Regions from separate parts of the Homo sapiens genome. Here all the other regions are linked to region 1. The links are contacts of gene promoters, found by promoter capture Hi-C in blood cells and fetal thymus (Javierre and others, 2016). All regions are on one chromosome and are shown on one strand. Each heading gives the region's core, a stretch centred on a gene start or on the middle of the fragment in contact. The rest is flanking DNA. Distances are from core to core; before and after follow the strand shown.

Region 1 (4,021 bases), core at 1,104-3,603:
TAAATAAATAAATAAATAAATAAATATGAAAAGTAATGAAATAAATATTGTGCAATCTGTAATTTTTTTTTTCATTGAAAGAACAAATCCTCCAGGCACGGTGGCTCACGCCTGTAATCCCAGCATTTTGGGAGGCCGAGGAGGGTGAATCATCTGAGGTCAGGAGTTTGAGACCAGCCTGGCCAACAGGGTGAAACCCTGTCTGTACTAAAAATGCAAAAAATTAGCCGGGCGTGGTGGCGGATGCCTGTAATCCCAGCTACTTGGGAGGCTGAGGCAGGAGAATCGCTTGAACCTGGGAGGCGGATGTTGTAGTCAGCTGAGACCACGCAACTGCACTCCAGCCTGGGCAACAAGAGCAAAATTCTGTCTTAAAAAAAAAAAAGAAATAACAAACCAATCAATCAAATAATCACCTAAGTTTTCATTATGAATTCGTCTTTTTTTTTTCTTTTTGAGACGGTGTCTCACTCTGTCACCCAGGTTGGCGTGCAGTGGCAGAATCTCAGCTCACCGCAAACTCCGCCTCCCAGGCTTAATGGATCCTCCCACCTCAGCCTCCCAATTACGAATTCTTTGTTATGCTAATGAAAGATGTAGAAAGAGGAGAGGGTGCTTTGGATGAGACAGAATAATCTTTTTATTTCTCATGGAGTAATGTTAATCTAATGATATGAAGGTATAAGTATTAATGCTGAAACTCAGAATGCCATTTCATAGACTCCCTTTTTTGGTGATTTTTTGATATTTACTAAAGTACTAATTTAGATGAGGCAAGTATATGAAAATCCTTTCATATAAATAGGCCTTGTATAAATATCAGTGTTTCTCTTTAACTTAAAAAGAACTCTGAAAATGATGCTACATCTTGCTATATTATAAAGTTCCAAGTTTGACTTGGACAAATCTAAAAAGCCTCATTAACAGTGCTTTTAAACAAAGCGCACTTGTTCTAACGGAAAGCTTGTTATGTATATTTGCATTCTTGGTTGGTAAACAAGTGTTAAATACGCGTAGAGCATAATTGTTGCTAATTTACGGGTCCTGGTAATTTTAGAGGCATGGGAAAAGCCTGATTGACACGTACGATCGTTGGATATAACTGTAGATGCATTTAACTTTGCCAAACAAAATAAGAGAAAGATGTCAGCATGCAGCATTTTTAAGGGGGAAAGGATTCATCCCTAAATCCAAAAAGATAATTCCCCGAAGTTCTTAGCACATAATGTGATTTGAAACTTCAAAGCAGCTTCTACTTCCGGGTGTTAACATGGGAAAAAAAATTTATCTCACTTCACAGGACTTTTATGTGGGTTTTTTTTTCTTGTTTATGTTGTCTACATCCGGTCCCTACTCTCTTCTTTCAATCCTCTCATTATCTCCCTCTAGGGGTTTAAGTTTGTTTTAACTTTATGCTTTTATCCTTATTAGTGGAAAAAAGTGGGTCAGTATTACTTTAGTTTGTCTTCACTGCCACTCTGCTGTTCATTCCTGAACTAGCTTTTAGCCTCTGGGAAAGGAGAAAGTAAAAACAGTTGCAGAAACTGGGCCAACCTCTCGCGGCCCGCCTCCCCCAAGAAAACAAAACCTAACCCGTGCAACAGTAGTCCTTTCTGTTTTCATAGCACCTTGTATTTCTCCGCTCATAACGTTCAGATTTTTATGATAGTTATTGATCATCTTTCATCCCAGCTAGACTCTCCGTCCTTAGAGGACTCAGCATATTGCCGGGCACATGATAATATATACAAAACACTGTACTGTAGTTTAAATGAATAGATGCCGTGTGTGTGAGAGACTGCGGCACTAGTACCCACGTACCCACACACAACAAAGGAGAAAAGTTGCAGCCATCAACATCTTTCAGTGTGGGTCCTTTGACATGGACTCTCTAGAAAGTCAGTGGAGAACTGTGGCATGGACACCTTGTACAGTAATTACTTGTATAACTGAAGCACGAGTTTTGGTTTGGTAGCGGGAAGTTGAGGGGCAGGGGGATGTTGGAGGGGCTGAATTATTCACATAATTTCTCCCCCAGTCGCTGCGGACAGGCACTCATTCCGGTGGGGTCCCCTGGCCCCCTCCGCCGCTCCCCCGACGCCCGCATTTCGGAGCGGGCAGTTTCCCGGGGACACCCGCCCCGCCCTGCAGGCCCCGCCCCCGGCCGCCGGCCCCGCCCCCGCCTCCGCCGCCGCCGGCAGGGGTCGCGCTGCCCCCGGCGAGCCGCTCAGGCGGGGGTGGGGTAAGCTCCCGCGGCCGGTCGCTTTTCTCCGCCGCCGCTGGTTGGATCGTTTCAATAAAAGTGTTTTTTCTCTTGCACTCGCTCTCCTCCGGGGAACAGGCGGAGGCGTCAATCCGCAGCCGCCGAGTGTGAAAGCGACGCACACGCAAGGAGCGAACGCGGCCGCCCGCAGTCTCCTGAGCTCCCCGCGGGCCGCCGCAGAGCCGCGGAGAAGGAGCCAGCGCCCGGCCAGACAGTCTCAGCCCGCCGTCGGCGCCCGCCGCGCTCGCGCCCGGCTGCTCCGAGGGGATTAGTGGGCCGTCCGCGCGGCTCGTCGGCGCGGGAGCCATGTTGACCGAGGGACTTGGCAACGCGTGAGACACCCGCGGCCCCTCCCGAGGCTCCGGACCCGCGGCGAGAGCCGGAAGGCGGCTGTGGCGGCGGAGGCCTGCGCTCGGAAGCGCCTCACGTCTGCCGGCCGCTGAGACCCGGACTTGCATCCGGTCGCCGCGGGCGTCCGCGGAGCAGCTTCCCCCCGCGCCTCTCTTCGCCTCGCCTCGGGACCCGCGGTCCCCGCTCTTGCTGGTGAGTTGGCGGCTGGCGTCCGCGCCGCGCTTTCCCCTGGTGTCGGGTCGGCCGCGGGGCCGGGAGGCTGCGTGGGACAGAGGCGGGGGCGGGGGCTACTGGGGGCGCGGGTGGCTCAGGCCCGGTCGGGAAGTTGAGCGAGGAGGCGCGGCGCGGGGGGCTAGCGTGCGCCTGTCACCTCTCCGGTCCAGCGAGGACCTTGGGTCGCCCGGGGATTTCCGGGGCTCGGGTGGGGTGTGAGTGTCTGCGAGCTGCTTCCCAGGAGGCGCCGACAGATATAGACGCCGCCGCCTCCGGTGCTCGCTGCCGCTTTGGTCTGCGGGGGAGGCCGGTCTCCTCGCGAGGCGGAGGAGGGGAAAGAGGCAGAAAGTCCCCCGAGACACAAAGGTCCCCTCGGCGGGGGTGGAGCTGGAGGCGCAGGCGACGCTGCCCGGGAGGGGAAGGAAGGGGCGCGGGTCCGCGGGAGGTGGGCGAGGAGGCGGCGGTCGCGGCGCCTGCAGCTCCTTGGAGACGCTGGCGCTGTGCGCGGGTGGGGAGCGCGGAGGAGGAGGAGGAGCCCGCGCGTGGGAGCGGGTAGAGACAAAGATCAGGGCAGCCTCCTGCTGGCGGGTCACACCCCGGAGTGTTGGTCAAGAGCGGAGGTAGAGGGAAGGTGGGAAACCCAGCAAACCGATGGGGAGGGGAAAATGGGGGGAGGAGGGTGCCTAGTGCTGTCTCCGTCGCAGTTGCTTTTCTCAGCATTTTTGTGCCCGATGCTATGCCCGATGCTTTTGCTCCCCAACTCAGCTGGATAGCTCCAGATTCCCTCCCTCCTGTCACCCCCACACTGCCACATTGACTCTCCTGTGGTTTTTCCCTCGTTCTCCCCCTACTTTTCACCCACTCCTTTTCGGGTAAGCAGTATTTTGCTTTCAGCTTGGGGAACATTTGTTAATGACAGGATGTCTGAGCTTGTTCTGACCCTGAACTGCCTTGAACTTCTCTCTCTTCCTCCCACCCTTTCCTTTTCTGGGATCTATAATGTCACATGGCCGTTAACAATTAGCTTTTCTTTTGCAAAAGTGGCAAAAAGCGTTTAGCTGAAATCTGTGGCTCTCGCCTCCTTTACATGAATATGTCCACCAAAGACACCTCGTTGGTCATGTTCTATCACCTCTTCGTCAAATTGACATCAGGTCCTAACAGGTCACTTTCAAGATACAGAAGAGGCAAATT
Region 2 (4,021 bases), core at 1,033-3,532, 510 kb before region 1:
CTCATTTTTAAGTGTTACTATATTATTTTGAGCTTAAGTTAAAAATAATGCTTTTAAAAACCTTTATATTTAGTCGCAAGCACCACAATAAGCAATTGCCAGTCAAGCAAAACTAAGATTTTTAAAAGTTTAAAAAAAAAAAAAATCACTTACCCCTTCAGCAAGCTCTAAAAGTGGAACAGGTTTACATTTGCAACTTGAGACAACTATTTTGTCGCCACTGGAAGATGCTGTTACTAAAAAGTTATCTAAATGAGGAGTTATGGAGCATCAAACAATCCATGAACATCTATAGCACTAGACTATTATAAGAATTGCGATTATAAAAGCTAACACACTAAGAAGACAAGCAATGAGTATAGCTTACAGAGTAGCTTTCAAAAATGGCTCACATTACTATTAATAATTACTAAGACTAATTCTCTTTGCTACTACTGCAGGGAAGAACTAGCCTTCTTTCTGGCTCTGCTATCACTCAAAAGCTATTTAACCCACGTGAAATACTACTCTGTTTTCAAAGAGTAGGCCAGAAGGGCTAATTTTATCCTTCAAGAATGAGAGCATGATAAAAGCAGCATCAGCAAATATCAATCAACCTTTTCATCTACAGAAACTGTTCAAGATATTTATTAACCTAGTGCTTGGTAACAATCTAAACTAGGAAGCAAACATCCACACTAGTCTCCTATTTTTCTATTTAAAAAAAAAAAAGGCCTGATATTTTCCCAGAACATGAATTTTTGTGATAGAATGTTTCAATCTTAAATTAAGAATGACTATTACAGTAACTTGCAAATATTTTATAAATATGTATGGTTAAATAGGAATTGTGTTATGAGTTTTAATTTTTAAATAAAATGTAATTTTATTTACCTTCTTTTACACGAATTGTAAATGGAACAATCAGTAAACACAAAACAGTAACTATTTTAAAACTAAAATGATTAAATACAATAATATAACTAAGAATAAGAGTCTGATTTTGAGAGCCATAACAAATTAAAATATCAGAAGTTTAAATCTGTGCTTTTTAGCAATTAAAATCTGTGAGTAAAAGCAATGGAGAAAGGTTAATTAGACACTCAGAATCCCTAACTGCATTAACTTTTGAATGTTCTGTATAACTTTCAGGTATTTTGTAAACAGAGCATAGACTGTAATTTTATTATGATACATGATGCAAATCAAATCATTCCTACCTAGATATTACCATAGCGAGAAAAACCATTTCCCTTTCCTTGACTTCTTCCTGTTTACCACTACTTTTCTCCTTAGAATATAGAAAAAAAAGGACTGAAACATAATGTGGGTGGGTAATCTAGTTCTTTTTTATTTCTCTTGTAGTTTTAGAAATCATGAGAAAGTGAGGAACGTAAGTTAAAGGACAAGAAACAAAAAACTAATCTCTCTGGTGTCTCACATTAACCCCATTCTTGGAATCTATACTATGTGGACCCCAAGTTGCTAAGGCTGGGAACTCCTTGTTCTTCAGTAATTAACCTCCATGGAAGTGATCAAAGCCTTATTAAGAATAAGACTGTATGAAGGCTTTCAGTGCACATCTGCTCATGCAAGAAAACTGTAAGACCAATTTCCAAAAGTCATACAACACTATCTCATAGCTACATCAGTTTTGTTGTTAGACTATTAAGTAGCACATCAGTAAATGCCAACTCCTAGTAAAACTTAAAACAAAAGTCAACCAAAAAATAATCTTACTACAAATTGCTACCTTTCTCTTATATAGTAAGAGGGAAAATTAAGCTCTAAACATAATGAAAATCTAAAAATAGAGAACAGCAACTTCATATACTTGTCGCTCTCTTTAAAATATTTTCCCTATTACACATCTGGAAAGTCCTTCAAAAATGTAGTCACTTCACCATGAGTTTGATTAACAGAGTACCAAAGTAATTTGTTTTACTGCAAAATCAAGGAATGATAAGGAGGTAAATTTAATTCAGTAAGAAAATTTGTCCTTCTTGTTATATACATGCAAGAATAGTAAGTCATATAAAACTTTTAATATTTTTGTTCCTGAACCAGTCACATTTTAAAGCTTTGATTTTTTTATCAGAAAGTAGAATACTTTGGTGTTGATAAAAATCAGATAAATGTTAAATCTTAATTTGTTAAGAAATAGCGTATGAGTTTCACAAAAGAAAATTTCTAACATACCAATTACATAAAACATTTTCACATAAAAGGTGATAGGAGCACTGTGGTCACAGCAGTGGTTCTCTACTGGGAGTGATTCAGGCAATTCTGGAAACGTTTTGGGTTGTCACAACTAGAGGCTATTGGTACCTAACGGGTGAAGACCAATAAACCTCCACGTGGTACAACATACAGGAAAGGTCCACAACAAATTTTCTGCCCCAAAAAGTCAATAGCACAGGGTTCAGAAACCCTAGTTTACAGTCTTCACTCCCTCATTTTATTTTATCCACATTGAGGAGCTCACCAAGACAGGGAAGGTGTCAATCAGAAACATAAAAAGCTTAGAAAAGTTCAATCTAGGTAACTTTACTATGTCTGTTTAGGAAATGTAATTTTCATCACACACACAGAGAGGAAGGAAGATATGGAGAGTACATTAGTAAGATGGAGATATTGGGCAATTTTTTATCTCCTCCCCAACTTGCTTCTGCCTTCAAGTTCTGTCTTTAATTTTCAGTTCAGATCCACAAATACCCAAATGTAGATGCAAAAACTCATTCCAAAACCTTTTGGAATTATTTCCACAACTACCAACCTTATTCCATTTGGTTCAATAAGAAATTTTTGATAACTAATTCTATGGTGTAGACAGAATATACTTTTTTTAATAGCAGTGTTTTCAAATGAAGTGGGTTGTAACTAAATTTTTTTTAAATGAACGCAACAGATAAAATCAGAGTGCATTCATATGATATATTGTTTTGTAAATTACTATTTTACGTTATCTATCCTTGGTAGCAATGCAAAACACATTACTCAGTATGAGGCACATGCAAAAGTTTCATTGACAGTGGTTGTTTAACCTAATAAGCGGTTTGTGTGTGTGTGTGTGTGTTTTTTTTTTTTAAAGGATACTATTGCTGCTCCAACATATTGAGCTGATTCCATGTGGTGATGTGTGTGGGTTGAATTTATCCACCAATGTCATAGATGAAGCATCCCATATTTTAATATCATCTCCTGATGAAGCAAATCTGAGGTTTTCCTGCATGACTGCGCCTACAAATAGTTTAAAACAATGTATTTTAAAAACATTTAAGAATAGACATACTCAAAAAAAGGTCAAAATCTAATCTAAAACAAGTGGCTCTAACTCATTCATTTTTGTTCCAAACAGTGCAGTCACCAAAGCAGTTGAAGTGATTTTCCTAAAACATAAGCCAGGTCGCATTCTCTTAGCTGACCCTTCCAATGGCTCCTCACAGTAATGATAATGAAATCCAGCCTCCTTAGCCTGCCTTACATGTCCTGGCCCCCATGTAACTCTCCTCTTTCTTTTCACTGGCCTTCTCTCTGCCTCATGCAAAGGCAAAGTCATTCTCACCTCAGTGTCTTTTCATTTGCTGCTCCCTGTGCCTAAGATGTTCTCCCCAGATTCCCATGGTCATCTCCTTCTCATCATTCAGGTCTTAGCTCAAATGTTTCCTCCTATGAAAGGCCTTTCCTGACCACCCTGGCTAACGCAGTCCCTTCCTTACCTGGTAAGGGACTTAGCAGTTTACCCTATATCCCAATACCTGATTTCATTTTTTTCATAGCACTTCCTAATATCTGAATTTTTTTTTTTTTTTTTTGAGACGGAGTTTCACTCTTGTTGTCCAGGCTGGAGTGCAATGGTGTGATCTCGGCTCACCACAACCTCCGCCTTCCAGGTTCAAGTGATTCTCCTGCCTCAGCCTCCCGAGTAGCTGGGATTACCGGCATGCACCACCACACCCGGCTAATTTTGTATTTTTAGTAGAGACGGGGTTTCTCCATGTTGGTCAGGCTGGTCTCGAACTCCTGACCTCAGGTGATCTGC
Region 3 (4,021 bases), core at 717-3,216, 460 kb after region 1:
TCCTGTAGACTCTACTGTCAAAACACATCTAGAATCGGACCACCTCTCACCACTTCCACTGCTATCCCAAGGAAGGGATAGCATTATCTCTTGCCTCCCAGTGGCTGTAGTCTCCTAGTAGATCTCCCTGTGTGACCCTTTTCCCTTTCTACAGTCTCTTCTCAGCTCAGCATCAGAGTGATTCATTGAATGGTTCCATTTCACTGAGAAAATGGCCTCCAGGGCCCTCGTGATCTTGGACTTCTTGTCTCTCTGGCTTCATCTGGGGTGCTGTCCCCTTTGTTCACTGTGTTTAAGGCCCACTGGTGTCCTTACTGTTCCTGAAACACACCAGGCACATTCCTCCCTCAGAGTGCACCTCTCCATGTGCTTACACTCCCATAGCACATACTATGCAACTGAGGCCATCCAAAGGCTGGACGTGGTAACTTACCTAACAATCCCACAAGGTAGATACTATTTGCATCATTCCTCTTGAAAGATGGGGAAATTGAAGTGTGAGGATTAAGGGACATAGAGAGAGTCTATGTTCTTAATCATTTAGCTTATGCGACCTCTAAAATGGATGGCTGGCAGTTATACACCACCATTTTACATTCCTGATATTTCTGAGCTTTTGATCTTTTTCATCTATTGGAAGTTGGATGTGAACGTGTATTTAAGATGTGAACTTTCAGGCATTTGCTATGCAATCCAATAACATTTTCCCTCTCTTTTGGTACAGAGCCTTTGTTTAGCCATCATGCTATTTTTATTTCGCACAACAAAGACATCCACTGACTTCAACATTTTTTCTGATTGGAAAGGGGACTTTATAATCCCTTCCTAACAATAACTGGTTCTGTTCCTCTCCCTCCCTTTTGTTCACCAACCTTTCATTCATCAATACAGGAATTCATGCATATGGAAGTATAGAAGTATAACAACATCTGGAGACTGCTGATTGCATTTACATGTTATATGAACTATATAATAGAGACAGAATAAGAGCAGATATCTGCTCTTAGCAATTGGTTTAAAGGAACAGAACTTCCAGTTTTTCTGTGAGTGAAAAAGTCCTTGAACCCATGGATAAAGATGCTCATTGCAAAAAGACTTTAAGGATAAAGGGAATGAGAGTGGGAAGGAGAGTGAATTTAGATAGATAGAAGGACCAAAGGAGTGAAAATGTGACAAGAAAGAGGTGATCAGAATCCTAAGAGTGGAGATGAGTACAGAGTGTAAAATTGAGAAAATCTACAAATCTTTAGTATTAGCCATCCAAATTCCAAATACTCATCAACCACAGGTTGTCACCAATTTTTCACCGATCTTTCTTTTCCCCCGTGAGAATGAATTTAATGCCTGTGAAAAAATGTTCAGTCATTTGAAAAAGTATAATGTCAATGTTATAGTTTTTATTCATTTTTTTCTCTTTTATAAGCTTTGACATAATTTTTTAAATATTTGTTTTTATAACCACTGGAACTAAAATCAGATGCTAATTAGTAAATATTAGCACATAATAGTTCCCACTTACTGAGCTGGTCTGTAAGCCAGGCACCCCACTTGGTTAAATCCATTGCCCACTGAATCCTCAAGAAAGCCTTAAGAGGTGTGTCCACTTTATGAAACAGGAAGCAGAGGCTCAGAGATGCTGAGTAATTAAGATGTAGGCTCCATGAAGACAATAGTTTTTGTTCTTTTTTGTCTTTTTAAAAATTGCCCTGTCCCCCACACGTAGAACAGTGCCTGACACATAGTAGGTACTCAATAAATGTTTTTTGAATGATACATGAACTTGCTCACACATAAGTAAATACCAAACCAAGATTCAAAAATCAGGCTTGTCCAAAGTCTGTGTTCTTAATCATCTGCTGCTCTGCTTCCGGGATATTTAGCTCTTATATATGGCTCTTTGAGATTCCTGAGGCACATATTTAAATGAGTAGCCCAAAATAGAATGTGTTGTCCATTGTTTCTGCTGCGGGCACATTTTTAAATATAAACTCCTGGGTGTCCTTTATCCCCAAAATGAATATATCTTTATTATTTTTCTCATTGTAACAGTTACACCAGCTCACTGAGAAATTTGAATGATACTCAAAGTATAGAAATCAGAACAAGGATTAGGGTAAGGCCAGTGAAGCTCTAGCTTCATGCATAAAATTTAAGGGGAAAGCAAAAACTCAGTAATCAAAATAAGCAATATTTTAATTCACTATTTTAAATATATAAATTAATGTAAAAAATTCATGATAAATGAAATAACAGAATTTTAAATAGAGACAAGTTCTGTGGGCCAGGATTTGGGTGAGTAGAGTGAGGCACTGGCTCTCAGGGTCACACAAGTACAGGGTCAGAGACTGTCCGTATTTACAATTTTGATATTTTGTTCATTATAGAATTTCCTGCATTTATTTGGAATTTTATAAAAATATATTGCATTAACATTTAATTTATCATAATAACTGAAAGTTGATTTTTTTGTTTTGTTTTTGTTTGTTTATTTTGGCAATCCTTAAGCTTTGCAGCTAAGATTGAGTGCCTCAATCACCTAACCCTAATCCCAAACCTGGTAAAAATGAGAGACTGCACCAAATCACATGTAATCAAGATTCATGTTTGATGAATGGCATTTCAAACACCTCTCAGATTTTTGCATGCATTTTTTAATCCACACTATCCCTACTCTTTTGAAATGTTTTGTTTTTTAACCAATACCATGGAGAGAGGTAAATAGTGACTACAGCATCATTTTAAGGGCCAACTGGAATTTATTTTATGGATATACCATAGTTATTTGGTCAACTCTGTATTTATGAAATGACATTGAACAAACATTATTGCACATGCTTTTTTGGCTGCTTGTCTGATTATTTTCTTGACATAAGATACCAGAATTGAAATTGCTGGGTCAAAGAGTATGTGTGTGCTCACTGCTTTTAAAAGCCATAAGGACTGTTAAGGAGTCATTGGCAGTTGAATTTAGCCCTTTTATATGATGTTCATAGAATTTTTAAAAAACGTATTTTTTTTTCTTTCAACAGGGCCAGGCAAGAAAATGTCCTCAAATTTATTGCCAACACTGAATTCTGGAGGTAAAAAGAAATCAATCAATATATTCTTGTTTGGGCCTGGCAGTGTTAGGCTCCATAACAGATTGTGAGCATAAGAAAAGGAGAATGTTACACCATAAATATAAAATGTAATGAGTTTATAAACTACCTGCAGAGAAGATTCTGTTCTACTTTTTAATTCAAAAAAAAAATCTTCAAATCAGAGGGTGCATTAAATTGTCATATTTAGCCAGATTGCCCCAGTCTCTCATGACAGAAAACAAGTAACTCAATTATTTGTCATAGTCAAGGACATACCTAACTAAACTTTATGAAAATCTGCCCTCTTCTTTCCTTTCCCACCCTTTCTCATCTTATCCTTCTGCCTATTTTTTATTTTTATTTATTTTATTTTATTTAATTAATTACTTTTTTTGAGATGGAATTTCGTTCTTGTTGCCCAAGCTGGAGTGCATTGGCGCAATCTTGGTTCACTGCAAACTCCGCCTCCTGGGTTCAAGTGATTCTCCTTCCTCAGCCTCCCAAGTAGCTGGGATTAGAGGCATGCACCACCACGCCCAGCTAATTTTGTGTTTTTAGTAGAGACAAGGTTTCACCATGTTGGCCAGGCTGGTCTCAAACTCCTGACCTCAGGTGATCCACCCACCTCGGCCTCCCAAAGACCTGGGATTACAGGCATGAGCTATCATGCCCAGCCTCCTTCTGCTTATTTATGAGCATACAAGGAATTAGTATTTATTGGTATATAAGGAATTACAATTTTCTCTTACAAATCTGACAAAAATTTAACATTTGGATAACACTAAGAGTTTGTAATAGGTAACAGGCACTCAGGCTCTCTATAGGCATTCTCTTTAAAGGAACATTTGACACTATTTGTATTTACAATGTAAAAGTTTGGCTGCAAGAGACAGAAAATATAAAACAACTGTGGCTTAAACATGATAGACGTTTGTTCTCTC
Region 4 (4,021 bases), core at 1,125-3,624, 420 kb after region 1:
AGATCTTCTGTATTCTTTATAACTTTAAGATAAGATCTTCTATATTCTTTTAAGAATATTGGTACTCTTCAGGTAATCAAATGGGTCATATACCTTATTTTGATTGTATTTTAGGTCCATGGTGTGGTGAATGATACAATAGCATTTGTGAAGAACATCATTACCACAGAACTGAACAGCGCAACAGATAATCCTGTATCTTTTGATTGTATACTAACCTGCAATTATAGAATTGCAGCTGGTAATTTTAGGATCTACTGAAACAATCATTTTGTGTAGCTTCTCAGTTCCATTGCTCCATTTCACAGAGTAAATGAATCAGTACCTGAGGCTCAGAGGTTAACTGACTTTCTCCAGGTCAGAGCTGGTAAGTGGCAGAGGTGACCTGTGAACTTACTCTCAGGTTCCAAGTCTAACATGCTGTACTTTCAAAATGGACCTATTCAAGATTTAAGAAGATATTTCCAGCATTGGCTGACATGTTTCCTGAAGACACTGGCCCTAAAACCCACTGCCAAGGTTGTTGGTGGAAGGGTGAAGACGTGGGTCACAAATGTGATTGCAGAAATGCTGAACAATTTATGCAGGCCTCTCTGCTTTGAGTGAGAGCAGTTTGCATTATGCAGAGGTCAGCCTTTTAACACTTACCAAAGTATTGATTAAAGAGTTATGGCTTCCTCATCCTGAGGTTTTTGGCATTTTTTTTTTTGTTTATTTTTAGACGGAGTCTCACTCTGTCTCCTAGGCTGGAGTGCAGTGGTGCCATCTCGGCTCTCTGCAACCTCTGCCTCACGGGTTCAAGCGATTCTCCTGCCTCAGCCTCCTGAGTAGCTGGAATTACAGGCATGTGCCAGCAGGCCTGGCTAATATTTGTATTTTTAGTAGAGACAGGGTTTTGCTGTGTTGGCCAGGCTGGTCTCAAACTCCTGACCTCAAGTGATCCACCTGCCTCGGCCTCCCAAAGTGCCGGGATTACAGGTGTGAGCGACTACACCCAGCCCCCATCATGAGTTTTTATTTGTCATGCGCACTTTGCTCAAATTAGTGCTTTTGCGTTTGTTCAAAGAAATAGTAAAACTGATTCCATTTCTCAAGGATGGAGGTCCTCTCTTAATGGTGTGGCTTATCTCAGAGCCATCTGGTTTTTCTCTGGAATGTTCCATGATGGCTCAGTTCCCCAGATGTTGAGGTGATCAGTCAGGAGTCACACTGGCACAGTTTTCATGGAGATAGCACTGCCTCTGAAGATAATCAAACGCCTTTGGAATCTATTTTTCCTATTCCACATCTGCCTCAGTTCTGAATCCTAGAGAAAGTGCTGAGTAAGCAGCCCCAAAAGCAGGTCACAGGCTGAGTTAGAAGATGGTTATGTGATAGCTCCATAAGGTTTCCCATGAGATGGCTTTTGTATGTATGTGTTTTTTGACAAGCTTACTTCAGAATGTGTGTTTTATGTTCTCTCACATTGTTTTACACTGAAGTCAAACCCACACTAAATAAGCCTCAGAAATTGTGGGTCTCTCCATTCACCTCAATACCACCCCATCCCCCAGATGGAATAGTAGTTTTTATGAACTCTATGTAGTCTTATCTCACGTACCAGTCTTTTCACTGTAGGGAAGAGGTATCTATTCTACATTTACATCATTGCTTTTAAAGGGTATCTCATAGTTTTTAGAAATTACCATTCAATTACTGAATATGGGGCAGGGGATAATTAATTCCTCACTAAATTCTTCTGCTACCAATTGCCTCAGCAAGAATTTCAGCCAAAAGTCTTTTATTTTTTTCAATTAAAGATTGCTAATTATTGATAAATTTCCAATAGGCTAATATTTGGGAGTTCTCTTGCAATACTGCTGTTACCTGAAAGAATATGTGTCTCAATTTTCTGTTGCAGATACGGAGCCCCATCACACATGCTGGATATTATGGGAGTTAAATTCTAATTGTTTTAATCTAATAGCCAACAAACAAATTTGGAACAACTAGAGGACAATAAAAACATGTCTAAGTTCTAAATTGATGCAGAATTCCATTGCTATAGGGATTCAGAGAATGGAGAAGAGGCCAAGACCAAGGAGCTAGACCCAATGGGCTCACAGTTACACATGCAGAACAGAGTAATCCACACTTGAGTAGGTTAATGTAACACATACATCTCTAACTCTTTCAAAGTTAGAAACTTTCTTGCACACAGCAAGTTCTCAGTTAATAGGTAATGAATATTCTTGAGCCCAAGAGGCAAAGATTAGCTCTTTAGAACCAGGAAGAAGGATCTGTTACTGCCTTTTCCTGGGTGCTTGCTGGTTTAAGTAAAGTGCATGATGGAATAGAATTATCTGAGGCTGGGTTTGGTGGCTCACACCTGTAATCCCAGCACTTTGGGAGGCCAAGGTGGGCTGATCACTTGAGGCCAAGAGTCCAAGACCAGCCTGGCCAACATGGCAAAACCCTGTCTCTACTAAAAATACAAAATTTAACTGGGTGTGATGGTGCATGCCTGTAATCCCAGCTACTCAGGAGGCTGAGGCACAAGAAATCACTTGAACCCGGGAGGCAGAGGTCGCAGTGAGCCGAGATGGCGCCCCTGCACTCCAGCCTGGGTGACAGAATGATACAGAAAATAAAAAAAGAATTACCTCAGAGTAATAATATTCAGCAAATTTAAACTTGCCACCTACTTAAAATGGATTCATGAGGACATATTGGCCACCATCTGCTGTTGAACGCTGACACCAGATTACTGAGTAAAGAATTTGAAAATTTTCTCAAAATTGATTGTTCCAGACATTTTGGTAGTTGCTCATCAGCAGAGTTTCCCATTCAACAGATTCTTCTATGGAACACAAATTTGCAGTGCCCATTGAAGAAACAGAAGTTGCTTTCAAACAGATGTGTTGGTCTCTGTTTTTAGTTTCAGGCTATAAACCTTTTGAGGGCAGGTACTAACCACCAGGTTAGTACAGTTATGGTGCTTTAGAATCTAATCTCAAGAGAAAACATCATTTCAAGGTTCATGTTTTTTCAGCCTCCAAATTGGGTGTACATGATCCACCTTTAAGGCTTTTTGTTTTTTGCTTTTGTGCCCCTTTATATCTCTTGCAGGAAGACTTGTCTCTTTCCCTCCACCCCACATTTGTACACAGACTGCCACCTCCACGTTAAAAAAGAAGGCAGGAAGGGGTTGTACTTGAAGTGACCAGCAAACATTATCTTCAAGCCTTAACCTCTTTTGAAAGATGGTCTTTGCCAATAGGGGAGAGACAGTTTCTGGAGGAAACTTCCATGGTGAATACCCAGCCAAAGTAAGCTTTTTAAAACTGCTCCTGACCCAGAAGGCACATTTCAATATAGGCTGACTAAATGGAGACCCTCTTTCAGGCCCTAGACTACTTGGCCATTGGCATCCATGAACTTGCTGCAATCAGTGAGAGAAGAATCGAGCGGCTCTGCAATCCCTCCCTCAGTGAGCTGCCTGCCTTCCTGGTGGCTGAAGGTGGTCTGAACTCTGGGTTCATGATAGCTCACTGCACGGCAGCAGCCCTTGGTAAGGACACTGCCCCTTTCCCAGAACACACGCCCGTCCATCTAAGGGTCTTTCCATTTCACCTAGAAGTATCAAATGTGGTCTGTGAGTGAGATCTAACTTTTCACCACTTTTATCTGCATCCTAGTTCTCTCAGTGCAAAGGTAACAGGTTAACTCTAATATTTTTCAGAAAAAAATAGTTTAAAAACTTCGATACTGTTATGCTGAAATATAATAATACAATAATAAGGCTGTAATGGACAATTTCTCTGTGGAAAGCAATTTGACATTGCATATGAACTTCATCTCTATAGCTTTTTTCCAAATCTCCATTTGAAGACTATTGGAAAAAGACTAAGATGGTTATAGTTAATGGTGAAACTTGAACCAACCTATAATTAAACTTTGAACTTTTAAACCTATAATTAAACTTTGGATTCATTTCACTAGATATAACAACCACTAAAAACATAAAGATGTTATTGCAACA
Region 5 (4,021 bases), core at 850-3,349, 400 kb after region 1:
ATCCTCATCTGGAATAAGTTTGCACAGAATTTACTTAGTGTGCAATTTGTTTCTTTTATTTTTATCTGACTTATTTCTATATTATAAAATATTTAGGATTTTAATCTGGCTATGCATTTCTCTCCAGCTCCTTTCTTCCAAGGAATCCTGTTGAAATGATACGGTATACTTCTTTATTTTGCTCTTAGGCACCTCTTCCATTGGGGCACATAAAGCGAATGCAAGAGGTGTACAACTTCAATGCCATTAACAATTCTGAAATACGATTCAGGTACATCATTTTAACTTGTCTCTGTGGAAGAAAGCAGAAAACTAAACTCCTTTGAAAGATGGAGAAAGGGAATGCAGAGTATGAGACATACTTGAGTCTTGAGAATTCCTTGTCAAACTGACTGCTTCTATATAAATACTTATAGTGGTATTTAAGGAATAGTTGCAATATGTAATCTGGTAGTATTAATCTTTTTGTTAGACTTTGCTCTAAACCTCTCTTGCCTTAAAAGAAAAAAAAAAAATTAGAATGAAGGATTCCGTGGTAAATAGGCTTTCTCCACAACCAACTAAATCTACTTTGAAATGGGAATAGTTAGAAATATTTTATTCTATTATATGTTAATCTTTCTTAATTCAAATTTGTAATGTGAGGCTTAAACCAAAGTTTAATTCCTTCAGAAATTGCATGTATAAGGTATGTGAGCACCTACCTGATCTTTCTTAATTCAAATTTGTAATGTGAGGCTTAAACCAAAGTTTAATTCCTTCAGAAATTGGATTTATAAGGTATGTGAGCACCTACCTGATCCAGACCTTTAAAAATATATGATCTTTTTCAAGAACCAGCTCCTCTTCTTTCTCTTCACCAATTATTAAATTGTATATATAAGGATTTGAGAGTCTCAGAATCAAGACATACCATAAAGTGGTGTACAGTATAACTATAGTGGGGTTATTCATATCACTACAGAAGTAATATTAAGATATACCTGTCATATCCTGCCCCTTCCTCATTTTCTACTCCATGCTCCCCCCAAATCCTCCTTTTAGATGGCTGCGGCTCTGCATTCAATCCAAGTGGGAGGACGCAATTCCTTTGGCGCTAAAGATGGCAACTGAACAAGGAAGAATGAAGTTTACCCGGCCCTTATTCAAGTAAGAACCCACTCAGACCGTACTTTGAATTCATCTAAGAAACAGGAAGAAAACTGTCAAATATTTAAACGTAATCTATATGACAATATTTTTTAATTTGTTAAAGTTTATCAGTATAATTTTGGAATAGGGATTCACACTTATAAATATTTAAAATGTGAAATAATTTCATTCCTCTTTTTAGAAGCATTATATATGGATTACTATTTTGGATCAAATAGAGTTAGATACTGATAAAATAGAAATAAATCAAAGATAGCCTTATATACACAAAGATTTTTAAAGGTAACTAGAAGATAATTGGTGGGTAGGTATAGACAAGAAAGAGAGTCTGAAGTTAAATGTAAGGAGAAATAAGCAGATAAAGCTAACTCTTTTGTGTTCAAATGTTGCATAGAGGTCAAGGGTAGGTTGCTTGACATAATAAAGGAATGCTTAGTGAGAGGGGGATAAGTTGTATCTTGACAGCAAGATACAAGAATATCTCAGTCAAGGTCTTTATGAATTTTGTCCAAATTCTGGAAAAAAAAATCATGCCATAAATATCCATGATTACTTTTGTTTGCTTTTCATTTACTTCACAAGTATTTAGGTGGGTGCAAAAGTAATTGCAGTTTTGGCCATCAAAAGTGATGGCCATATAATATCATAAAACTTGGCAAAATAAGTCATTATCTCTTTTTTGATGTGACCACAAAATTAAGTTTTAAGTATATTTTATATGCTTTCCCTAATTAAAACCCATCTAGCTTTGAATTGAGTAAAGTATACTTTAAATAGGTTTTTAAATAAGAGTATACTTGGGCCGGGCGCGGTGGCTCACGCCTGTAATCCCAGCACTTTGGGAGGCCAAGGCAGGCAGATCACGAGGTCAGGAGTTTGAGACCAGCCTGGCTAACATAGTGAAACCCTGTCTGTACTAAAAATACAAAAAATTAGCCAGGTGTGGTGGTAGGCACCTGTAATCCTAGCTACTTGGGAGGCTGAGGCAGGAGAATCGCTTGAACCCGGGAGGCAGAGGTTGCAGTGAGCTGAGATTGCGCCATTGCTCTCCAGCTCCTCCAGCCCGGGTGACAGTGCGAGACTCTGTCTCAAAAAAAAAAAATGAATAAAATAAATAAGAGTATACCTTTTGTGGGAAAAATAAGTATTTCTGTTTTATGATGTTTATAGTAGTTACATTAAAAATGACTAATCCTACCTTTTGTATGGTAGGTCCTTTTTATTTAGTGTATTTATTATTTATTTCGTGTATTATTTATTATGTATTTATTATTTCACTGTGGTCAGGACTTTTATTCTCAATTATTTGAAGTTTTCAGAAATTCTATATAAATTTTAGTGTTTTCATACTCTTAAAATCTTGATTAAAAAATTTTTTTTAAAAGCAGTTTTTAAAAAGAAAGGCTTTGAGGCTCACTCTCACATACAGGGCTGATATTTAGCCAGGAGATGAGAGGACTCTGTTCAAATAATAAAATCCTTCCATGCTGCTTGGTAAATAGCCACGGGTCCCAGCCACTCTAGCCCTTCCCTGTAACTTGCTGCAAAATGTCTGATCTGCCAGTATAAAGGCCAGTCTCTGGTACAGAAGGAGGTCTCTGGGACCCTGTGGCAGGACCATACCCATCTGATTGGCTGGGACTGGTGCCTTATTTGGGTGATGCTGGCTGTCACCCCTGCTGACATCCTTTAATTTAATCTTGGGTATTGACTTGTGTTCTTATTCTCTTTCTCCTTCCTTTTTCCTTTCCTCTGAACCCCTTCCCTCCTTTCTTTCTTCTCTCCCTCCCTTTCTCCTCCTCTGTCTCCTTCTCGCCTTTCTTTCTTTTCAATTTTTTCTTTTTTGGCAGGGATCTTGCTGCCTTTGACAAATCCCATGATCAAGCTGTCCGAACCTACCAAGAGCACAAAGCAAGCATGCATCCCGTGACTGCAATGCTGGTGGGGAAAGACTTAAAAGTGGATTAAAGACCTGCGTATTGATGATTTTAGAGATTTCTCTTTTTTAAATGGAATTCGTAAAGAAATATAAAACTTCAGCTCACAATTAAAACTGTCTTTTTAGTTTTGGCTTTTTATTGTTTTGTTGGTGATTTTACTGAAATAAAGTTGAGCTACTTCTTCTTATAGTGGCATATTCTTTGTAAATTTTAACAAGGTTTAATCTTTTGATTTACAAATTAAAAAATTTTGAATTAGCTTTATATTAATTTTCTCTCAGTATGATCACAAAATATGTCAAGGTAGTATTTTACCTGATATATGATTTAAATTCATTAATTTGAATCTGCTGCAGATTCAAAAATTCAACATGGTTAGGATTTTGCTTTGCTTTTTAAATAACCTTAAACATAAGTCCGGGCGCAGTGGTTCATGCCTGTAATCCCAGCACTTTGGGAGGCCAAGGCGGGTGAATCACCTGAGGTCAGGAGTTTGAGACCAGCCTGGCCAACATGGTGAAACCCCGTCTCTACTAAAAATACAAAAATTAGCTGGGCGTGGAGGCACGACTGTAATTCCAGCTACTCAGGAGGCTGAGGGAGGATAAGCACTTTAATCTGGGAGGCAGGGGTTGTAGTGAGCCGAGATGGCGCCATTGCACTCCAGCCTGGGCAATGGAGACTCTGCCTCGAAAAATAAAAAATTAAAAAAAAACCTTAAACATGAATGCTTAGTTGTATTTGCACACCACCTACCTGGTGGACAGCAGATGAACTCCTTACCAGAATGTGTCAACCCTAGCAGGAGCTCTCAACTCCCTCCTCCTGGACCCCTCCGGCTCATCCAGTGGGCTTGTCCTGGTCTCCTGTCCATCAGGGGTCAGATGGCCACCCCAAGCACCAGTCTTTCCCATCCCTCTCACAGTCTG
Region 6 (4,021 bases), core at 693-3,192, 340 kb after region 1:
AGCAAATGGTCCCTCTTCTCCTGACCTGTCTCAGGGATAAGCTGAGAGTGGCGATGTTGAGCTTAATTAGGACTTAGCTATTTTTCTATGTGAGGTGATAGGATTTTAAGAGTGACCTTATTCCTCCCTTCCACTGAGTCCTGCAGCTGGTTTTTGGGTGCTGCTACTCACACCTTACAAGTGTCCTCTTGCCTGGTGGTTACAGAAAGGAAGGACAACTTCACCTTCCAGTCTCCATTTCAATTGGGACCGTTGCTGGCAGTTTATGCTCCATTAAGTTGCCCAGGAGCAGCATTTACTGCACACTGAGTTATGTGGGTCTCTGAAATTCTACCCCTATTCTTATGAAGACCTGAAAGTATTGTTTAATAAAAGCTCTTTCTTATAATAATCATGCTTATTTGCTTATATGTGAGTCTCTGATTCTCTATCATTAATTTTTTCACTTGTGATAAACTAACAGAGACGGGTGATTTAGACAGGCAATAATCAGCCAGTACAATAAACTTTTAATTTAGGCTGGCTGCTAAAGAGACACCAAAAGAAACAAATACGCAGAACAGGGTAGCACTCAGGCTTTAATCTAACTATTGCTCCACCCCACTCTGTATCACTGCCTTGTTAAATCTTTCTTTGGTATTTGTCCCTTCCCTTTCAATCCTACTCTTCAACTTGGTTGAGTCCCTTGATCACATCTCACACTAAGTCCATTAGCCTTCCTAAAATGTCCCTCCTCTAAGGTCAGTCTCCTTCAAAACACCCTTCAGCTGAATTCATTTGACAAATATTGAGCATCTACTGCCCTCAAAGAATTATGGTTAGTAGGGAGACACCTTGGTAAAATGAAATACATATAGATATATAGACACAGATATACAGTGAAATGTATTTATTGGTTAATGTTCCTTTGGTTGCAAATGATAGATAAATCAAGCAGGCTTAAGCTCAAAAAGGGAATTTGTTAATGCACAAAATCCAAGAATATATCTTGAATTTAAGTGAGGCATCATTCAGAGGATCAAATAATGTCACCAGCAGACTCTTTCCCATTCTCTCTCATTCTTTTCACTCTCTTTATTTTTGCTTCATGCTCAGGCAGTATGTGAAGTCTGCTAGCAGCTCCAGACTTGCAACAAAAACTTGTGTGTTTCTTCCCAGCCGCTCATGCTCAGTCCCAGGATTCACTCTAGTTCGATGAACCTGGGTCTCATGATCACCTCTGAACTGTAGCTCCTTAGTGCTCTGATTGGCTAGACTTAAATCACATGGGCTACACCCAAAGTACGGGGTGGGGGTGGGGTGGGTTCCTGAACGCTTGTCAGAGAAGGCGGAATAGAAGCTAGTGTTAAAAGAAACAGTTTAGACAAATTAAATTTAACAGAGTTTATTTGGGCAAAGAATGATTCATGAATCAGGCAGCACTCAGAACCAGAAGAGGTTCAGAAAACTCCACTTGGCAGTGTGAGCAATGAGCTTTTCTAGGGTGAACACAAAAGCAATGTAGAGAAACCACTTGATCGGCAACAGCTAGGCATCTGCCTTATTGGGCGTGGTCTCATCAATTGGATGCTTATTATTGGCTGAAGCTTCTCTGTGATTGGCTGAAACCAGGCTATATGTTACAAAAATATACTCCTAAATTAGGTTTCAGTTTGTTTACATACTATTAGGTTGCTGTTTGTTCCACAGAAACTCAAAATATGGAGAGGGCCTCTGGCCAATGGCCTCGTGCTTATTTAATTTAACACTAGGTAGATAAAAAACAACAAATATTTCTATAGTATGGGTAAGATATATTGAGAACACAATAAACAGGTGCCTAAATCTGCATGTGAGTCACAGAAGACATCACAGCAGAGGGTAAATCCGAGTTGATGCTTGAAAAAGGAGCAGGAGTTTGCTGACAGGCAGGGAAAGCCAGGAGGATTGGGAGGGAAGGGGTCCCAGTGGCAAGAATGGCCTATGCAGAGTCACAAAAGAAAATAAACTATGTGTCCATCAGACATGGCTTGGGTGTGTGTTCCCATCAAATCCATGTGGAATTGTAGTCCCCAGTGTTGGAGGTGGGGCCTGGCGGGGAGGTGATTGGATCATGGGGGCGGATTTCTCATGAATGGTTTCGCATCATCGCCTTGGTGCTGTTCCTTTGGTGCTGTTCCCGTGATAGTGAGTGAGTGCTTGTGAGATTAGGTTTTTTAAAAGTGTACATCACCTCCTCTCTAGCTCTCTCTTGCTCTTGCTCCCACTATGTGAGACACCTCGCACCCCCTTTGCCTTCCGCCGTGATTGGAAGCTTCCTGAGGCCTCCCCAGAAGCAGAAGCCACCAGGATTCCTGTGAAGCCTGCAGAACCATGAGCCAATTAAACCTCCTTTCTTTTCTTTTCTTTTCTTTCTTTTTTTTTTTTTTGAGACGGATTTCCGCTCTTTCGCCCAGGCCGGACTGCAGTGGTGCAATCTTGGCTCACTGCAAGCTCCGCCTCCCGGGTTCATGCCATTTTCCTGCCTCAGCCTCCGGAGTAGCTGGGACTACACGCAACCGCCACCACACCCGGGTAATTTTTTGTATTTTTTTTTAGTAGAGACGGGGTTTCACCATTTTAGCCAGGATGGTCTCCATCTCCTGACCTCGTGATCCACCCGCCTCGGCCTCCCAAAGTGCTGGAATTACAGGCATGAGCCACCGCGCCTGGCCAATCTCCTTTCTTTGTAAATTACCCACTCTCAGGGTTTTTTTTTTTTTTTTTTTTTTTTTTGAGATAGAGTCTTGCTCTGTCACCCAGACTGGAGTACAGTGGTGCGATCTCGGCTCACTGCAACCTCCGCCTCCTGGGTTCAAGTGATTCTTCTGCCTCAGCCTCCCGAGTAGCTGGGATTACAGGCGCCTGCCACCACACCCAGCTAATTTTTGTATTTTTAGTAGAGATGGGGTTTCACCATAAGCCAGGCTGGTCTTGAACTCCTGACCTCGTGATCCACACGCCTCGGCCTCCCAAAGTCCTGGGATTACAGGTATGAGTCACCGTGCCTGGCTTCTTCTTCTTTTTTTTTTTTTTTGAGATGGAGTCTTGCTCTGTCACCCAGGCTGGAGTGCAGTGGCGCAATCTCGGCTCACTGCCACCTCTGCCTCCCGGGTTCAAGCAATTCTCTGCCTCAGCCTCCCAAGTAGGTAGGATTACAGATGCCTGCCACTACACCTGGCTAATTTTTGTATTTTTAGTAGAGACGGGTTTCACCATCTTGGCCAGGCTGGCCTTGAATTCCTGACCTCATGATCCACCCGCCTCGGCCTCCCAAAGTGTTGGGATTACAGGCGTGAGCCACCGCGCCCAGCAGATATTTCTTTATAGCAGTGCGAGAACGGACTAACTCACCATCTTTTTGCACAAGGCAGAGAGCCAGATTAAAAAGGCAGGTTGTGGAGCCTGATTGCTTGGTTTGAATTCCGGTTGAATCTTGGCTGCTTACTTAATTGCACCATGCTTCAGTTCACCATCTGTAAAATGGGAATAGTAATAGTACCTACCTCTCAGGCTGTTGCCAGGATTAATTGAAATGTGTTAATACATTTAAAGTGCGTAGAAGAGGGCCTGGGATATAGGAAGTGCTAAAAACAATTGCTAAATAAATCCAATGAAGTAAAATAAAATTGGTGTGATTATTAATTCATGCTGTGCTACAACCTACTTTAAAATAATGGCCTACAATTACTTGGTTCAATGCACTATAAATTTGGTTTAAAAGATCACAACAAAAGAACAACATGACTTTCTCATGATCATTTATATAGGTAACATACAATCCAGTTCCTTCTCATATATAAATTTCCCTGTTTGTAGTCATAGTGTTGTTACACTGTTATCCCACAGTTCCACATTTTATAGGAAATGTAGTTTCTCCTTCCGGCTTTTGTTGCCTAAGGTCTAATCTTGCAGACTTATTATAGCAAAATGTTGCTCAATTTAGCCCACCCAGTCTCATGAGACAACAGGCTGACCCAAACAACCCCAAAGGAGAGAAACT
Region 7 (4,021 bases), core at 402-2,901, 270 kb after region 1:
ACAAAAGCACAGACATTTTATGAAAAGAAGTCCAGGACCATCTGAACAGAGCAGAAATCCCTCTTGATGAAGCTCTGGAGGTGAGGCCAGTAGGCTTACCACTACTTACAGGCCTTTCTCCACTATTTACCAACTGAGTGATCTACAGCCTCCCGATACCTTTTTGTTGTTGTTGTTGTTGTTTGTCTGTTTTTTGAGACGGTCTTGCTTTGCTACCCAGGCTGGAGTGCGGTGGCATGCTGCAGCCTCAAACTCCTGGGCTCAAGCGATCCTCCTGCCTCGGCCTCCCCGAGTGCTGGGATTATAGTCGTGCACCACCATGCCTGGCCTACACGTTGGTTTTCTTCACCTCCATAATCCACCAGCCAGGCTCTCTTGCAGGTGTAACAGGAATCAAATGTGACAGCACATGGGAAAGTGCTTTGGGAATGGCAAAGCCTTAAGCAGCTCTAAGCCACTGACACTGACAATGGTGGGAACTGGTAAAGAACATTCTAACAGCCCCTGCACTCAGCTCAAAAGAGCCGTGTGGGACTAGACAGGAAGATGGTGAGTCCGCCCAGCAGGGTGAAGCTCTGAAGGCTGGTGGAAAACAAGGAACAGTTTTTTAAAGCTGCACAAGGGAACTACCATCTGCATTAATAACACGAACCAGGATTTTTCTTTCTTTTCTATTTGTACAAATTTATGGGTTGCATGTGCAATATTATTTACATGCATAGATTGTGTAGTGGTCAAGTCAGGGCTTTTAGCGTATCCATCACCTGATAAATGCAGATTTTTCAAGGTGGACCTTGTCAGGGGATTCTCCACTGGGGGTTTCCCTCTTGGTCACCTCAGAGGACCAGAGTTAGATTTTATTTAAAGAAGACTGCAGAGTTCTTACAAGGTGAAATCTCCATCTCATCAATGGGGAAAGGATGACTCAAGTAATTACAAATCTACTGTGCATCTAGAGAAAAGGCTGCATTTGATGATGGAGAGAGCACAGGCTTGAGATCCTAGCTGACCTAGGTTCATATATGCCCTTTGGTAGCTATGTGGTGCTGAATTCATAGCTCATCCACTCTCTGCCTATCAAATGGGGGCAATAAGGCTGATCTCAAAGGATGAAGCTGCACAGCACAGACAGGGCTCCTCAGTATTATACATGCCAAGTCCAACAGTTCCTGGGATGCTGGGTAGTGAAGAATGAAGCTCTGTGATGAGCAAATTTTCTTGAACCAATTTAATTTCTGTCTGGAGAGACAAGATCAGAGGGAAATCATGCATCTGGGATGGTTGTTCTCAACTGGGGGTGATTTTCTCCCCCAGGGGACATATGGCAATGTCTAGAGACATTTTTGTGACAACTTGGGGGTAGTTGCTACTGGCATCTAGTGGATAAAGTCCACAGATGCTGCTAAACATCCTACAATGTGCGGGACCGCCTTCTACAATAAAGAATTATCTGGCTCTAAATTTCAATAGTGTCAGAGCTAAGAAACCCTGGTTTGGCCCAAAGCAGAGTTTTTGTTGTTCTTCCCTGATATGGTTTGTCTGTGTCCCCACCCAAATCTCATCTTGAATTGTAGCTCCCATAATTCCCACGTGTTGTGGGAGGGACCCAGTGCGAGATAATTGAATCATGGGGGTGGTTTCCCCCATTCTGTTCTCATGGTAGTGAATAAGTCTCATGAGATCTGATTATTGTATAAGGGGTTTCCCTTTTCCCTTGGGGCTCTCATTCTCTCTTGTCTGCTGCCATGTTAAGACATGCCTTTTGGCTGGGTGCGGTGGCTCAGGCCTGTAATCCTAACACTTTGGGAGGCCGAGGCAGGCTGATTGCCTGAGGTTAGGAGTTCGTAACCAGCATGGCTAATATGGTGAAACTGTGTCGCTATTAAAAATACAAAAATTAGCCAGGTGTGGTGGCGCATGCCTGTAATCCCAGCTACTCGGGAGGCTGAGGCAGGAGAATCGCTTCAACCTGGGAGGCAGAGGTTGCTGTGAGCCAATCCAGACTATGCAACAAAGCGAGACTCCGTTTCAAAAAAAAGACGTGCCTTTTGCCTTCGGCCATGATTGTGACACCTCCCCAGCCACGTGGAACTGTGAGTCCATTAAACCTCTTTTTCTTTATAAATTACCCAGTCTCAGGTATGTCTTTATCAGCAGCATGAAAACAGACTAATACATTCCCACAGTATCTGTCAATAAGCCAAGTGGACCCAACTGCATATGTGGAGTTGTTCATGATCTGAAGCAATAGGTAAGGAGAAATATTCGTTGTTGATTCAGATGTTAGCTTAGGGGTGTTAACAATCCCTGTCTGAGGCTGGAGTAATTCATTCAGAATATGTTTATTGGTCGCAGAGGACACCAAGTTGGGATGACTTGTTAGTAAACTGGAGGTAGGAAATCATGTCCTAAGTTACCTCGACAAACAAGAGAAGTGGTTTTCCAAGAGCAGAATGAAATTCTTATTGGGGAAAAACTGGTTGAGACGTTAGGGTCATAGGAATGACCTGATGGCCACCAGAGACTAAAACATAAACATGGCCCGTGGTCTAGATAATGAGAGACAAAGGTTGAGAATGAATCTTTCAGTATTCCTCAGACCCAACGAGGCCGTTTTAAAGTCTTCAGTGTAAGGCCCTGCATTTTAAGAAGAGACATGGAGAAATCCACAGAAAAGCCAGAACAATCGCTGGAAAATAAAAAGATCTTCTGAAAACAGATAAAAGAGTTTGAGTTATTCAACGTGGAAAAGAGAAGATTAAGTGTGCCTTGATTTGAGCATGAGAAAGATTATCACAAAGAGAAAAATGGCCAGCTGTTTTCCATCTCCATGGAGGAGCAAATTATAGGAAATAGGCTGTGATTGCAGCACAAGGATGGTTATGAATAAGAAAGCATTCCTAATTGGAACCTGGAACAGACTTCAGAGGAAGATGGTTCAATTCCCTTTACTCAAGTTTGCTTTTTAGCAACTTTCGTGTATTTTTATACATGAAGTATTGACCTGACCACAGACAGGAGACTGGACATAACTTCCTGGGCCCCTAGTTTTATCGTTCTTTCTGCCTATGTCTTCACAAGGCCCAATTAACTAGCTGATGAGTGAAAAATTCAGTTGTTTTGCTGTATGGCCTTATACAAGGTAATTTTCTAACAACTTATTTGATAGATTTTCATCTATTCGTTTATTAAATTGACCGGTTGTTTTAGGGTCATGTTGACAAGCCTATAATTTTATAACATTCATTTTACTCCACAGAACTTGGACATGAACCTATAAACTACATTATGCTTGTGGGTCATCAAGTAGACCTTGTATTGATCTTAATATTAAATAGCTCAGTTTTATGAGCCAGTAGATTCTTGAATGCTGATACCAATATGCACTTGATATGGTTTGGCTCTGTGTCCCTGTCCAAATCTCATGTTGAATTGTATGTAATCCCCACTGTTGCTGGGGAGGGTCCTGGTGGGAGGTGATTGGATCATGGGAGCGGATTTCCCCCTTGCTGTACCCATGATGGTAAATGAGCTCTCACTATCTGGTTGTTTGAAAGTGTTGGGGCCAGGCATGGTGGCTGGTGGCTCATGCCTGTAATCCCAGCACTTTGGGAGGCCGAGGTGGGCGGATCCCTTGAGGCCAGGAGTTTGAGACAAGGCTGGTCAACATGGCAAAACCTCATCTCTACTAAAAATACAAAAATTAGCCAGGCTTGGTGACGCATGCCTGTAGTCTCAGCTACTTGGGAGGCAGAAGCAGGAGAATCGTTTGAACCCTGGAGGTGGAGGTTGCAGTGAGCCGAGATTGTGCCACTGCACTCCAGCCTGGGCAACAGAGGGAGACTCCATCTCAAAAAAAAAAAAAAAAAAAGAAAAAAAAAGAAAAAGGAAAAAGAAAGTGTGCAGCACTTCCCCCTTTGTTCTCTCTCTCTCTCTCCTGACATATGAAGATCTGTCTGCTTCAACTTTGCCTTCCACCATGATTGTAAGTTTCATGAGGCCTCCCCAGAAGCAGAAGCCT

The links. Contacts are between HindIII fragments. The CHiCAGO score rates a contact against its expected background, and 5 or more counts as called.
Region 2: a fragment that was not itself captured here is called in contact with the fragment with the promoter of CDK17 in region 1 in 1 of 17 cell types (fetal thymus); the score reaches 6.3 in fetal thymus.
Region 3: a contact is called between a fragment that was not itself captured here and the fragment with the promoter of CDK17 in region 1, in 8 of 17 cell types (fetal thymus, monocytes, naive CD8 T cells and 5 more). The highest score is 11.2, in fetal thymus.
Region 4: a fragment that was not itself captured here is called in contact with the fragment with the promoter of CDK17 in region 1 in 1 of 17 cell types (neutrophils); the score reaches 7.3 in neutrophils.
Region 5: a fragment that was not itself captured here is called in contact with the fragment with the promoter of CDK17 in region 1 in 4 of 17 cell types (neutrophils, M2 macrophages, monocytes and 1 more); the score reaches 14.9 in neutrophils.
Region 6: a fragment that was not itself captured here is called in contact with the fragment with the promoter of CDK17 in region 1 in 17 of 17 cell types (activated CD4 T cells, total CD4 T cells, total CD8 T cells and 14 more); the score reaches 41.0 in activated CD4 T cells.
Region 7: a fragment that was not itself captured here is called in contact with the fragment with the promoter of CDK17 in region 1 in 3 of 17 cell types (activated CD4 T cells, non-activated CD4 T cells and total CD4 T cells); the score reaches 6.4 in activated CD4 T cells.

What each region holds. Positions count from the first base shown.
Region 1 is chr12:96,398,771-96,402,791 of GRCh38, reverse strand. CDK17 (cyclin dependent kinase 17) reads left to right here and starts at 2,353. Exons shown (of 17, transcript NM_002595.5): 1 at 2,353-2,806. RefSeq lists an enhancer at 1,370-1,589 and silencers at 2,010-2,339, 2,430-2,609, 2,790-2,949. The HindIII fragment of the contact is 3,343 bases long and covers 966-4,021 here.
Region 2 is chr12:96,908,950-96,912,970 of GRCh38, reverse strand. NEDD1 (NEDD1 gamma-tubulin ring complex targeting factor) reads right to left here. Exons shown (of 16, transcript NM_152905.4): 3 at 3,076-3,219; 4 at 154-248. The coding sequence starts at 3,211. Among named protein-coding and RNA genes, the nearest start is that of NEDD1, 3.7 kb to the right of the region's middle. The HindIII fragment of the contact is 441 bases long and covers 2,062-2,502 here.
Region 3 is chr12:95,935,532-95,939,552 of GRCh38, reverse strand. It overlaps CCDC38 (coiled-coil domain containing 38), which reads left to right. Exons shown (of 16, transcript NM_182496.3): 2 at 3,030-3,080. The coding sequence starts at 3,044. Among named protein-coding and RNA genes, the nearest start is that of CCDC38, 5.1 kb to the left of the region's middle. The HindIII fragment of the contact is 1,082 bases long and covers 1,426-2,507 here.
Region 4 is chr12:95,980,085-95,984,105 of GRCh38, reverse strand. HAL (histidine ammonia-lyase) reads left to right here. Exons shown (of 21, transcript NM_002108.4): 15 at 115-195; 16 at 3,243-3,308; 17 at 3,385-3,550. Among named protein-coding and RNA genes, the nearest start is that of HAL, 14 kb to the left of the region's middle. RefSeq lists an enhancer at 1,467-1,636. The HindIII fragment of the contact is 1,883 bases long and covers 1,433-3,315 here.
Region 5 is chr12:96,000,088-96,004,108 of GRCh38, reverse strand. It overlaps LTA4H (leukotriene A4 hydrolase), which reads left to right. Exons shown (of 19, transcript NM_000895.3): 17 at 189-271; 18 at 1,045-1,149; 19 at 3,003-3,356. The coding sequence ends at 3,120. It overlaps LOC102723340 (a long non-coding RNA gene), which reads right to left. Exons shown (of 4, transcript XR_945237.4): 3 at 3,849-4,018. Among named protein-coding and RNA genes, the nearest start is that of HAL, 5.8 kb to the right of the region's middle. The HindIII fragment of the contact is 9,911 bases long and covers 1-4,021 here.
Region 6 is chr12:96,054,386-96,058,406 of GRCh38, reverse strand. No RefSeq gene overlaps it. Among named protein-coding and RNA genes, the nearest start is that of TRD-GTC2-8, 20 kb to the right of the region's middle. The HindIII fragment of the contact is 707 bases long and covers 1,589-2,295 here.
Region 7 is chr12:96,126,195-96,130,215 of GRCh38, reverse strand. No RefSeq gene overlaps it. Among named protein-coding and RNA genes, the nearest start is that of LINC02452, 44 kb to the left of the region's middle. The HindIII fragment of the contact is 6,105 bases long and covers 1-4,021 here.